Linked DNA regions of Homo sapiens: regions 1 and 3 are each linked to region 2. Evidence: promoter capture Hi-C in 16 types of primary human blood cells and fetal thymus (Javierre and others, 2016). All regions are on one chromosome and are shown on one strand. The core of a region is centred on a gene start or on the middle of the fragment in contact, and the rest is flanking DNA. Distances in the headings are between cores, read along the strand shown.

Evidence for each region. The method cuts DNA at HindIII sites, captures the fragments that hold promoters and counts their contacts. A CHiCAGO score of 5 or more calls a contact.
Region 1: a contact is called between a fragment that was not itself captured here and the fragment with the promoter of LAYN in region 2, in 1 of 17 cell types (naive CD4 T cells). The highest score is 5.3, in naive CD4 T cells.
Region 3: a contact is called between a fragment that was not itself captured here and the fragment with the promoter of LAYN in region 2, in 9 of 17 cell types (naive CD4 T cells, fetal thymus, naive CD8 T cells and 6 more). The highest score is 7.9, in naive CD4 T cells.

What each region holds. Positions count from the first base shown.
Region 1 is chr11:111,810,108-111,814,522 of GRCh38, forward strand. The region is part of intron 13 of ALG9 (ALG9 alpha-1,2-mannosyltransferase); the gene reads right to left. Among named protein-coding and RNA genes, the nearest start is that of PPP2R1B, 46 kb to the left of the region's middle. The HindIII fragment of the contact is 4,001 bases long and covers 778-4,415 here.
Region 2 is chr11:111,539,453-111,543,834 of GRCh38, forward strand. It overlaps LAYN (layilin), which reads left to right and starts at 1,268. Exons shown (of 7, transcript NM_178834.5): 1 at 1,268-1,476. The coding sequence starts at 1,392. RefSeq lists an enhancer at 371-1,050. The HindIII fragment of the contact is 6,714 bases long and covers 544-4,382 here.
Region 3 is chr11:111,853,008-111,857,193 of GRCh38, forward strand. ALG9 (ALG9 alpha-1,2-mannosyltransferase) reads right to left here. Exons shown (of 15, transcript NM_024740.2): 7 at 642-729; 8 at 373-478. Among named protein-coding and RNA genes, the nearest start is that of ALG9, 16 kb to the right of the region's middle. The HindIII fragment of the contact is 6,586 bases long and covers 1-4,186 here.

The DNA of each region.
Region 1 (4,415 bases), core at 1,528-4,027, 270 kb after region 2:
CAGTCCATCACCTCTTATTCCACAGACTCAAAGGGCATGACTAAACACAGATGCTAATGTGTGAGAAGGCCTGCCTCTCCTCACAGCCATGGGAGGTTACGCTACACCTCACAGGGGTACAGAAATATCATGCATATCATCTCCTTCAAATATTCAATAGAATTTACAGAGACATTGGAACGGCTCCTGCAGCGAAAGTTTAGTAAAAGTGAGATATCAGAACTCTGCTTTTGTTAATACTATGTATTACATTAATATTGTATATTAACAAAAACAGAGTCAGCCAGTTGCTGATAACATGGATACATCAGAATATTGTAGATGCTCAAAGGAAAATATTAAAATATTTCATTTAAAACTATGCTGAGCCAGGTCCGGTGACTCTCGCCTGTAGTCCCAGCACTTTGGGAGGCCAAGGTGTACAGATCGTTTGAACCCAGGAGTTCAAGACTAGCCTGAGCAATATGGCGAAACCCCATCTCTTTAAAAAATACAAAAATTAGCTAGGTGTGGTGGCACATATCTGTAGTTCCAACTACTCAGGAGGCTGAGGTGGGAGGATCACTTGAGCCTCAGAGGTCAAGGCTGCAGTGAGCCAAGATCATGCCACTGCATTCCAGCCTGGGCAAAAGAGAGACCTGCTTCAAAAAAATATTTTTAAAACAATTAAAACCAAAAAAGAGTCCTCTTAGGTTGTTAGATGTCAGCTAAAATAAAGACTATTTGAAACATGTACAGATATGCAGCAAATATCACACTTGATGTTGTAGGACTAAAAGCTTTTCCTTTGGGATCCAGAATAAGTCAAGGCTGCTTGCTGTCACTACTCTGTTCAGCACTGTATTAGAGGATCTAGTCAGTAGGGTAAGACTAGAAAAAGAAACACAGGGCAGAAGAAACAGAAAGGAAGAAACAAAACTCATTCATCACAATGATATAATGGTCCAAAAGACTCTACAAATACATTTTGGAATTATTAAGACAGTTTAGCAAAATTTAGACTTACAGGATGTCAATCAATGTCATATGTTCCATAGCAATAAACAAAATGAAATTTTATAAAAATATAATTTACAAGCATTTGAAAATGTTTACCTTAGAATAAATATAATAAAAGATGAAAGTGCTCCATAAAAAAGTATAGAATCTTATTGGCTGGGCACGGTGGCTCACGCCTGTAATCCCAGCACTTTGGGAGGCCCAGGTGGACAGATCACCTGAGGTCAGGAGTTCAAGATCAGCCTGGCCAACATGGGGAAACCCCATCTCTACTAAAAATACAGAAATTAGCTGGGTGTGGTGGTACAGGCCTGTAATCCCAGCTACTTGGGAGGCTGAGGCAGGAGAATTGTTTGAACCTGGGAGGTGGAGGTTGCAGTGAGCCAAGATTACACCACTGCACTCCAGCCTGGGCAACAGAGTAAGACTCTGTCTCAAAAAAAAAAAAAAAAAAAGGATAGAATTTTATTGACAAATGCCCATCAACAGATAGATTCATGTGGTATATCCATACCATTAAAATGTGGTATATCCATACAATAGAACAGTACTCAGCCATAACAAGGAATGAAGGTCTGATACAGCCTATGCCACAGATAAACCTTAAAAATATTGCTGTGACTGAAAAAGGCCAGGCACCAAAGGCCACATATATACGATTCCATTTATATGAAATGTTCGTAATAGGCAAATCCTCCAAGACAGAAAACAGAGGTTACTATGAACTGGGGAGTGGCTGCTTAATGGATATTTAATGGGTATGGGTTTTTTTGGGGGGGAGGCATAATAAAAATCTTCTAAACTTGGATACTGGTGAGAGTTGTACATTATAAATGTACTAAAAGCCATTGAATTGTATGCTTTAAAATGATTAAAATTGTAAATTTTGTGTTGTGCATATTTTATAATTAAAAAACATTAAAATGGTGAATTTTATTTCAAATAATTTTTTTGATACACAATAAAGTAGACCTTATTAATGTAGTGATATATTTTATTCCTAGACAAAAACCTTACTATTATAAATATGTCAATTCTAAACAAATTGATTGATAAATTAAATATAATGTCAATCAAAATCCTAACAGACTTTTTTGAAACTCAACAAGCGGATTCTAAAATGTGTATGGAAAGGCAGAAAGACAAGAATAGCCAAGGCATTCTTAAAAAAGAAGAACAGGCTGGGCATGGTGGCTCACACCTGTAATCCTAGTACCTTGGGAGGCCAAAGTGGGAAGATAGCTTGAGGCCAAGAATTTGAGATAAGCCTAGGCAAGACAGTGAGACTCTGTTTCCACAAAAATTTAAAAATTAGCCGGGCATGGTGGTATGTACCAATAGTCCTAGCTACTCAGGAGATTGAGGCAGGAAAATTGCTTGAGCCCAGGAGGTCAAGACAGCAGTAAGCTATGATCATGCCACTGCATTCCAGCCTGGGTGACACAGCAAGACCTCATCACTAAAAAGAAAAACAACAACAACAAGGTGGGGGCTTAGTTACTGTAAAGCTATAGAAATTAATACAGTAGGCCATGTACAGTGGCTTACGCCTGTAATCCTAGCACTTTGGGAGGCCGAGGCAGGTGGATCGCCTGAGGTCAGGAGTTTGAGACCAGCCTGGCCAACATGGTGAAACCCCGTATCTACTAAAAATATAAAAATTAGCCAGGCATGGTGGTGGGCATCTGTAGTCCCAGCTACTCAGGAGGCTGAGGCAGGAAAATTCTTTGAACCCCGGAGGCAGTGGCTGCAGTGAGCCAAGATTGCACCACTGCACTCCAGCCTGGTGACAGAGCAAGACTCTGTCTCAAAAAAAAAAAAAAAAAAGAAATTAATACAGTGAGGAATAGATCAACAGACCAATGAAATAGAACAAAGAGCCTAGATCAGATGCAGGTACATGCAGACCCTTATTTACGACAGAAGCGACACCTCAAAGAAGCGACTGTCTTTTCACCAGCTGGTGTAGACAACTGGATATCCCTTAGGGGAAAAATGAAATTGAACTTTAACCTCACTCCACATGCAAAAATCAACTTTAGATGAATAGGCCTAAAAATGAAAAGATAAAGCTCTCGGAATATAATATAAAAGAATATCTTCAAGATCTTGGGTAAAAGAGTTTGTGGATAAAGCATTAATTATAAAAAAGAATGACGATACATTTGACTATATTAAAGTTTAGAATACCTTTTCACCAAAAGACACATTAAGGCCAGGAGCAGTGGCTCACGCCTGTAATCCCAGCACTTTTGGAGGCTGAGGTGGGAGGATCACTTGAGGCCAGGAGTTCAAGATCAGCCTGAGCAAAATAGTGAGATCCCATCTCTACAAAAAATAAAAAAATTAGCTGGGCATGGTGGTGCACACCTGTGGTCCTAACTACTTGGGAGGCTGGGGCAGGAAGACTGCTTGAGCCCAGGAGGTAGAGGTTGCAGTGAGTCAAAAAACATTAAGAATTAAAAAAACACAGAATGAGAGAAGATATATGTAATACATTTAACCATCAAGGATTCATATCTAGAATATATATAACTTCTGCTAATCAACAAGACAAAGACAAACCACCCAAAAGAAAAACGGGCAAGTGACTTAGGTACTTTATAAGAATAAACTGAAATGGCCACAACAAGTGAAAATGCGTTCAACCTCATTAGTAACCAGCAAATGCAAATGAAAACCACAATAAAAAAAATTACAGTATCAAGTGTTGGCCAGAATGTGGAACAACAATTATATATTACTAACAGGAAATTAAGTTGGTAAGAGTTCTTTAGAAAACTATTTGGCAAAATCTACTAAAATTGAACATATGTATTTCCTATGATCTAACAATTCTACCCCTAATTATTAGATTGAACCACATGAAATTATTATTTGATGTTTGAGCCACAAAAATGGTAATTCATATGGTTCAACCTAATGTATATCCAACAGAAATGCCTGCACCAAAAGAAAAGTTCAAGAATGTTCAAAGTGGTGTTATCTGTAGTAACCCAGATTGGAAACAAAAACACCCGTCAACAGTAAAATAATCAATAAATTGTGGTAAAGTCATACAATGAAATATTAATAAGAGAGAACAAACCACAGGCAATAACATGTGTGATTATTATAAACAAAATGTTGAGTGAAAAGATCAAGACACAAAAGGATAAATGCAGTGTGATTCAGGCAAAATGAACCTAAGTCATTTAGGGACACATGTAAAAGTCATAAATCTAAAGAGAAAAGCAAGAAAATCATTACCACAGGAGTCAGGAGACTCCCTCAGAACAGGGGTGTGGGTAGGTGATCAAAAGGAATTCTGGGGGAGCTCCTGGGTGCTGGCAATGTTCTATTATTTGACCTGGGTTACACAGACACTTGCTCTATTATTATTACTACTAATTTACTGTACAAATACTTTACACACA
Region 2 (4,382 bases), core at 18-2,517:
AAGAAGAAAGTGTGTTAGATGTGACATTGACGTATTCTAACTGGGACAGAAGGAAGGTCTATAAATGATCTTGCCATAAAGGTCAGGCCTCATCCTGCCACAACCGCTGTTAGCTGTTACGTGCCGCAGCAGAGCTCCCCCATAGTCTCAGCTGATACTGAAATTCATCCCACTCCCCTCTCACCCCCAGCCTGTATTCAGGCTGTTTGTTTAGAATTGCAGTGGCTAGAGGCCTTAGAAGCATCACTGCTTTCTTGGCTGTTTTGAAAAGCAGAAAGAGTACGTAAGAAGCAGCAAGCTGGAACCAAAATCCAGAGGTCGTGGCCCAGATGGGGCTTCTGCTATGCTTCACAGCAGCATGGTGTGGCAGAAAAGGCAGAAAGTCAGATTCACCTTCTGCTACTTAGTGCCTTAATCTTTGGACAGATGGCTCACTCTATTGCTTGACTATATTTAAAAGCATTTTGTTTACGAAACCAAAGTGAAACACACCTACTTTGGGAGTTTACAAGAGGAAGCACACATTGAGGGCTAGGTTAGGAAAGCTTTTCCTGAGATAATAGTTTCATTCTTTCCTGCGGGGCGAGGGGCCAAAGCTGAACTCCCTAACTATGACCCCCACCTCCCAACCTGTTCCCTGCAAAAAACAGAATCATTTCCTTCCAGGGATCTGGGACATCTTTTGGCTTCTGGTAGAAGCCGCTTTCCTTTCAGTCGGGAGGGCTCCAACTCAGCCAAGTTCTTTGGATGCCATCCGCGCGGTGTCCCATAACTTTCCTGGCCGGTGGGCACACTGCCTGCGTGAGTGTTTGTTCTCTGCATCGACCATTCCCTGCTCAGGCGTCGCCCTTCGTGCTGGGACTGCGGCCTGCTGAGCCCCAGGTAGGAGTCCACGCATCGCCTCTCTCTCCAGGTGCACCCGCACAGCTGGCGAACTTGGCTAAGGTCAGCGGGAGAGGAGGGGTGAGATGTGGTGCTAGTTTTAGGCACACTGTGCTCGTTATCAGATTGCCTAGGGGCCCGACTGAAGTATTCCTCCGCCCAGCGCCTCGGGCAAACGCGGGATCTCCCAGGGAAGCTCGGAGGGGGACAGGGAGCTGGTTCCCCTCTGCGACTCGCCCCTCTCTGGCTGGCCGAGTGTCTGGCGCCAACCTCGCTGGAGGAGGCTGTCGGGGGCGGGCCAGCCAGCGGGGCTGCCCTCCTCGCAGTGACGTCCCAGGGGGCGGAGGGGCGACCGACTGACTCCGCGCCCTCCCCCCCGCCTCCCGTGCGGTCCGTCGGTGGCCTAGAGATGCTGCTGCCGCGGTTGCAGTTGTCGCGCACGCCTCTGCCCGCCAGCCCGCTCCACCGCCGTAGCGCCCGAGTGTCGGGGGGCGCACCCGAGTCGGGCCATGAGGCCGGGAACCGCGCTACAGGCCGTGCTGCTGGCCGTGCTGCTGGTGGGGCTGCGGGCCGCGACGGGTCGCCTGCTGAGTGGTGAGTGCGCGCGCTGGGGCGGGGGCTGGTGCCGGGGTGGGCTCACTGCACCCCAGCTGCTGCTGACCCTCTTCTGGGTCGCCACGTATGGGACTAGAAGGCCGTCCCATGCCCCACTCCCAGACGCAGCCCTTCGGAGTCTCTTGCGTTCTGGGGGCAGTCGCACGGCGTCTGAGACCCACGCCAGTTCCCGGAGCTGCGCAGTTCCCTGCGCGTCCTGGAACGCTCGAAGCCCGTTCCCAGTCCAGAGTTATGGGGGTGGGTTGGAGAATGTAGGAGAGGTGGGGCAGTGGGCAAACCTGCCCCAGTGGGTGCCCCTTCGGCCCGCTCCTTTACACGCATCGAATCAGTCCTTGGGACCACCCCCGCGGGGCAGGCTTGCCAGCTGGCCCCCGCCTACCGCCCGCTCCGGGAGGCGGCCGCAGAGACAGCGGGGTAGGGATGCTGGATCCCCGGTGCCGTGGGAACCCTGCCTGTTACTCCTCGTCTCTTCTGCGGGGTTGGATGGCTGGGTCGAGCGCCCGGTATGAGAGCGCTTAGAGATCGGGAAAGAACTCCAGTTAGTGTGGGACGAGCCCCACCTGACTCCGGGGAATGACTCTCTGCTTCCTTCCTCCTGTTGTGTCACTGCAGCCTCGGATTTGGACCTCAGAGGAGGTAAAGTGCTCTGGCTTCTGGCTTCTTTCAGTTGTTCTGCATGTCGGGGGGAGAACATCCGTGCCCTTTTCTCAGATCCTTTTTGCGGGTGCCAACAGCTTGACCAAACGGGACAGAGGAGACTGGGAACCTCCTCTACTCTGGCATCCTGGCTTGCGAAACTAATTTAAAGAATGTAAAGTTGGTTTCAGGATGGGGGCGGGGCGGCAAAAGAGGTGGGAAGCTGAATTGAGCTGCTTGGGTTAGGGCTGCGTGGGCTCTGTCCTTGGTCGCGGGGAACAGAAGGCCCTCCCACCCTTCGCCTTCCTGCAAATGAGAAGAGAAGGACACTTCCTGAAGGCAGGAGAACCAGATAGGCCCGCGGGCCTCCTTCCAGCTCTGACGGTCTCTGGCACTCACCCGCAGACTTCGGATGTGTGGCCAGGCTGGACCATACAGGAAACTCGCTTAAGGTGTTATGTTTCCCTTGACAATCCAACATGGAAAGTGGGGGTTGTCAGGAAATTCAACTCCAGCTTATGTTATGCCGGTGGCCAGGTTGGATAAGTTCCTGGGGGCTCATTTGCCCCTCCTCTGCTGCCCAATTTGGAGCCAGCTTTGAGGAATCGCAAAAGCGTGGCTGGCCCAGCCCCCTTCCCGGGGGTATCCCTGCCTCAGCCTCTCTGAATACCTTCTTGCAAGCAGGTCTGGCTTTTGAACCCTCCTAATGTGCTGCTGGACCAGTCTAATTAGAGTTTCTCTATTATCAGCAATAGCCAAATAATGACAGGAAAAGGGAGAAGATGTGGAACTCTTATAACTTGTTGCTCATTGAGAATTCCTTTATGAAAGTGATGAGAGAAGAAATAGAAAATGAAGACTCACTGGAGCTTTCTGGATAATCTGTATGTGCTCTTTCTCATTTAGCACTAATCATATAGTTCTATCTGTCTGTGGCCCCTTGCCCTATATGCTGGCCAGTGTTGGGAATTAATGAATGCTATCTGGCTCCCTGCGCAGCTGTAAAACAAGTTGGGAAAACAAGAACATTCCAGAAGTTCTGGGAGGAGGTTCCCAAACCAAAATATTTTACCCCCGGCACTGTGGCAGCAGTTCGCACCCACAGCCCACAATTTGGCTTTCTCTTTGCAGGGGGACTACTCCCCGTGTTGATACGTGGTTTTCACTTTGAACATTTGAATCCGGAAACATATGCTGTGTGCTCCTGTGGGTTAGGAAGTAGCTTTTGTTCCTGTATTCCCAGCACCTCGCACAGTGCCAGGCACAAAGTGTACACTCAATAAATGTTGATTGAATGAAAGGAGTGATGAGGCTAGTGTCTCCATTGCAGCAAGGCTTCAGTCACACAGACGCAAGCTAGAGCAGTGTGTACTGTGAGCGATTTGTTATTGGCTCCTCAGTAAAATCCCATCTGTTTGTCTGAGATGATCTTCAGCCCTTCAGGGGACAGACTGATAAGACACATTACATAGGCTCCCAGTAAAACATGAGCCTGGGGTGCAGCGGGGAGCTAGCAATTTAGTTCACTGGTACCAGCATGATTTTGTAATTAGATCTGGGCTCTAACTCCGGTGATGCTGATGATCACTGTGTGATCTTGGCCAAATTACTTAACTTCCCTGAGCTCCAGTTTTCTCATTTGTAAAATAAGCCATAAACAGTATCTGCATCAGGGGACTATTATGAGGGTTACATGAGATAAAGTATGTAAGTAAATGTTAAGCCCTTACCATAGTTTATGGCACATAGTAGGAGTTCAGTAAACCTTAACTGTTGTCTTTAGGTCAGAGGGCTGACTGTCAGTAGCAGAAAACCCCGTGGATCTGATGCTTTTAGCTTCTGCTTACACCAGAGACTGGGCAAATTCTCAGTCCTGCTGCACAGGCAGAGGGTTCCAGAATAGAGGAGCCCATGCCTGACTTCAGGAAGCCTCTCTTACCTTAAAGAACCACCAGAGACACCCCCTTTAAGCCACATTATCCCCTGAGACTCCCTAATGAAAGTGTTATTTGTGTGCCTTTCAGTGAAACCATAAATCTTCATCTACTTCTCTTCTAAAGGACAGTCAAAATAAAACATTTGCTTTTTAAGATTCTGTAATGGAACAAACAAAACATGATGTCCCTACACAATATAGGCATCAGAGTTTAAATCACTACATCTCCATGCTGGAAGGAGTATTAATTTGCTCTGAGAACCCCAACTGACATGATAACAGTCTACTGATGTGTAACCAAAATTCCTACCCA
Region 3 (4,186 bases), core at 876-3,375, 310 kb after region 2:
AGTATTATGCTTTCATTTCCTTCTCCTATCATACTGATTTTTTAATAAGAAGAGAAAAAAGTAACTTTTAATTAAAAAAAAAAAAAGCATCAAAAGCCATAGCATACCCAGAGTCCTCAAAACTCTGAAAGTGAAAATAACAAACAGGAAAAATAGAGAGCCAGTATTGGAATATCACATTAATCAAGGAGAAATATTTGAGTGGCTACGTGTCATCATTGTGCTATACTCAGATGTCATTTTTAAATAGGAAAAGATAATATCAGCCAAGAAATGCTACATCTAATAATACGAGGCAACTGAATTAAAATGCTGAAGTTCAGGCAAATTAAGCTATCTCCTAACACTTGCCCAAATTTCACAAAGCCTTACCATAAAGATCAGGTCCATGAGGAGTAAAGACATTATACAAAACAATGTTGAGTGGTGCAATCACCAACTTCCCATAATAGTAGCTGTCAATGACCACCACAGGCACCTAAAACAGAGCAGAAAATAGTTTTGATCTAGAAACATTCTCAAAATGCTAATAGGATAAACCTGAGAATGAAAAACAGAATAAACTCCTGATGTTCCTTTTTTCACATCAAAGTTGCTTTCATTACAACTTTAGGACAAAGCAAGTAAAAAAGAAAACTCACCAGAAATAGTATGAGGGCCATCAGCGACCAATGAAAGAAACTCTTCCACCTGTGTTTCATGACCAGCAAATCAAAGGCAATGGGTAAACTATTTAACAGAGAAACAGAGCGGGGAGTTAAATAAATACTGACAGAGACAAATCAGATTCACACATACCTCATGCTGAACTGAGAATAAAATGCCTCTGCCAGTTATAGTGAGGGAAGAAACCTGGTATGTGAGAGGATGTCGTCACAGGACCTGTCAGAGTGCTCTGTATCCCACTGATGCACAAGAAATAGAATTACTGAGCTGCTGGAATGAATTCCATTTTATACACATTTATGGGTAACAGAAATTTAAAATATATGTGCCCTACTGTCTTACACCCACCCTGCCAAATAAATAAGTACTAACCTCACCCTTCCATGATTTACTAGGATTTTAGTAATAACCTTATTACAGACTTTTTTTTTTTTTTTTTTTTGAGACAGGGTCTCACTCTATTGCCCAGGCTGGAGTGCAGTGGCGCAATCTCGGCTCACTACCGCCTCCATCTCCTAGGTTCCAGCATTCTCCTGCCTCAGGCTCCCGAGTAGCTGGGACTACAGGCACAGGCCATCAGCCCTGGCTAATTTTTTTTTTTTTTTTTTTTTTTTGAGACAGAGTCTCACTCTGTCGCCCAGGCTGGGTGCAGTGGTGTGATCTCAGCTCACTGCAACTGCCGCCTCCTGGGTTCAAGCAATTCTCCTGCCTAAGCCTCCCAAGTAACTGGGACTACAGGTGTGCACCACCACACCCCGCTAATTGTTTTGTATTTTTAGTAGAGACAGGGTTTCACCATGTTGGCCAGGCTGGTCTCAAACTCCTGACCTCAGGAGATCTGCCTGCATCGCCCTCCCAAAGTGCTGGAATTACAGGCATGAGCCACCACGCCTGGCCCCATCTTTGAATTTATATGGCATCATCATCTCTATCATTGATTTAGCAATGTCATGTGCTGTCACAGTACCTCTTCTGTGATTTGAACCTCCATGTTGTTATGTAAATTCCGTATAACATTTTGCGTTTTTATTTTTTGTCACCCCAACTACTTCCATTTCCATAGCACCTGTATTTCTCCTTTGATAAGTCATACTTTTAATTACTTGTCCAATATCTGTCTTTCCTACTAAAATGTTAAGTTCCAAAAGGGCAGGAACCATGACTGTCTAATTTCTAAAATATCAGCAGTATCTAGCACAAAGCATTCAATGAATGACAGTATACTGATTGCTAACTGACTAATTGTGATCCTGAAATCACTTATCTTGGTAAAGGCAGACTCATCGAAATGTGGCACCCAAGAGGTATTTGAGGAACTCAGTGAAATTCAATGTAGATGAAATAGTGAATGAAAGGAATGGAAGAACTGACAAAAAGAAGCTGGAAAAGTAAAAGGAAGACCATGCAGGGCTTTCTGTGTTATCTTTGAGTTTGGATACCACAGGGCAGGGGTTGGCAAACTTTTTATTTAAAGGATCTGACGGTATATATTTTAGGGTCTGCAGGCCACATATGTTCTCTGTTGCATAGTCTTCTCCCTCTGTGTATGTTTGTTGTTTTTTAAAAACCCTTTAAAAACGTAAAAACTATTTAGTTGTTGGGCTATACAAAAACAGGTCAGTCGGCCAACCTCCATGACATAAAGCAATGGAGAAGCTGCCATAGAGTTTAAAACAGGGAAGTGATACAACCACATCTGCATTTGAGGAATATAACTCTAGTGGAGTTTGGAGAGCTGATTTACAGGGGTCAAGACTAGAGAGGAGGAGATCATTTAGGAGGCCGTGTAGTGATCCAGGAACAAGGGGGAGTGAAGACAAGTAATCAGATTCAAAAGATATTCAGGAGATACAACCAATTAACACTGATGGGAAAGAGAGAAGAGTCACAGACAATTTTCAGGTTTCTGGGTCAGTATTGAGGAGACAGCAGTACTATTTACTGGAATAGAAACACAAGTAAAGGAACAGCTATGGAGAGAAGATAATGAATTCAGCAGCTATCTACTAAGCAGCTGGGAATATATGAATGAAGCTCAAGAGAGATAACTGGACTAGACATTAAGCTATGGGAATCACCAAGATGGCTGAGAGATAGCAGAAAGTACAGAAGAGGACCTAAGATACAATCCTGAGGAACATGAAAATCTGAGAATGTGCAAAATAGAATAGAAGAAAGGAATGGAGATGAGGAAACCAGCCTTTAAAAGGCACTTAAGAAATTTTAAAATGGACTATTCTCTTAGTAACTCCCCTCATAAAAATTTACCCCATAGGTAAATTCCCACAAGTGCACAAAGATATCTGTATAATAATGTTCACTGGGCCGGACACGATGGCTCACACCTGTAAACCCAACACTTTGGGAGGCCGAGACAGGTGGATCACGAGGTCAGGAGTTCGAGACCAGCCTGGCCAATATGGTAAAACCTCGTCTCTATTAAAAATACAAAAATTAGCTGGGCGTGGTGGCATGTGCCTGTAAACCCAGCTACTTGGGAGGCTGAGGCAGGAGAATTGCTTGAACCCGGGAGACAGAGGTTGCAGTGAGCCAAGATCGTGCCACTGCACTCCAGCCTGGGTGACAGAGCAAGACTCCATCTCAAAAAAAAAAAAAAAAAAAAGAAAAAAAAATTGTTCACTGAAGCATTGGTTATAACAGTAAAAAAATGAAAACCAAATGTCTACCAATAAGGCAATAAGTAAATCATGGAATGTTATGCAACCAATATAAACAATTATATAAATTTAATATGTAGAATACCTATATATATACAGAATAATTCCATTTGTTTTAAGAATGTAGATAGGTATGTATACAAATATTTATACACACAGCATAATTTTTCTGGAAAGACATATACCAAACTATTAGCAGTGACTATCTTTGAGGATTGAGCTAGCGGAGAAGAAAATTAGGAATTGTTTTTACCTTATACAATCTGGTACTTACTTTTTTTTTTTTTTTTTACAATAAAGATATAATCCTTCTAAAATAACCTTAGCATCAGATTAAAATATTTTCCTAAATTACCTGTGGTACAGGTAAGAAATTAAGGTACCACACACTAGAACAGAAGTAGTGGGAACAAAGAGTATACAAGGAGCTTGGTGGAAAAAAAGATGCTGGGGGCAAGAAAGAAGGAAGACTGGGCCAGGCGCAGTGGCTCATGCCTGTAATCCCAGCACTTTGTGAGGCCAAGGTGAGCGGATCACCTGAGGTCGGGAGTTCAAGACCAGCCTGACCAACATGGAGAAACCCTGTCTCTACTAAAAAATACAAAATTAGCCAGGTGTGGTGGCGCACGCCTGTAGCCCCAGCTACTTGGGGGGCTGAGGCAGGAGAATCACTTGAACCCAGGAGGCGGAGGTTGTGATAAGCCAACATCGTGCCATTGCACTCCAGCCTGGGCAACAAGAGTGAAACTCCGTCTCAAAATAAATAAATAAATAAAAATAAAGAAAGAAGGAAGACGGGAGGAAACTCAGATTTCAAATCCGAGTGAGTGAAAAAATTCACA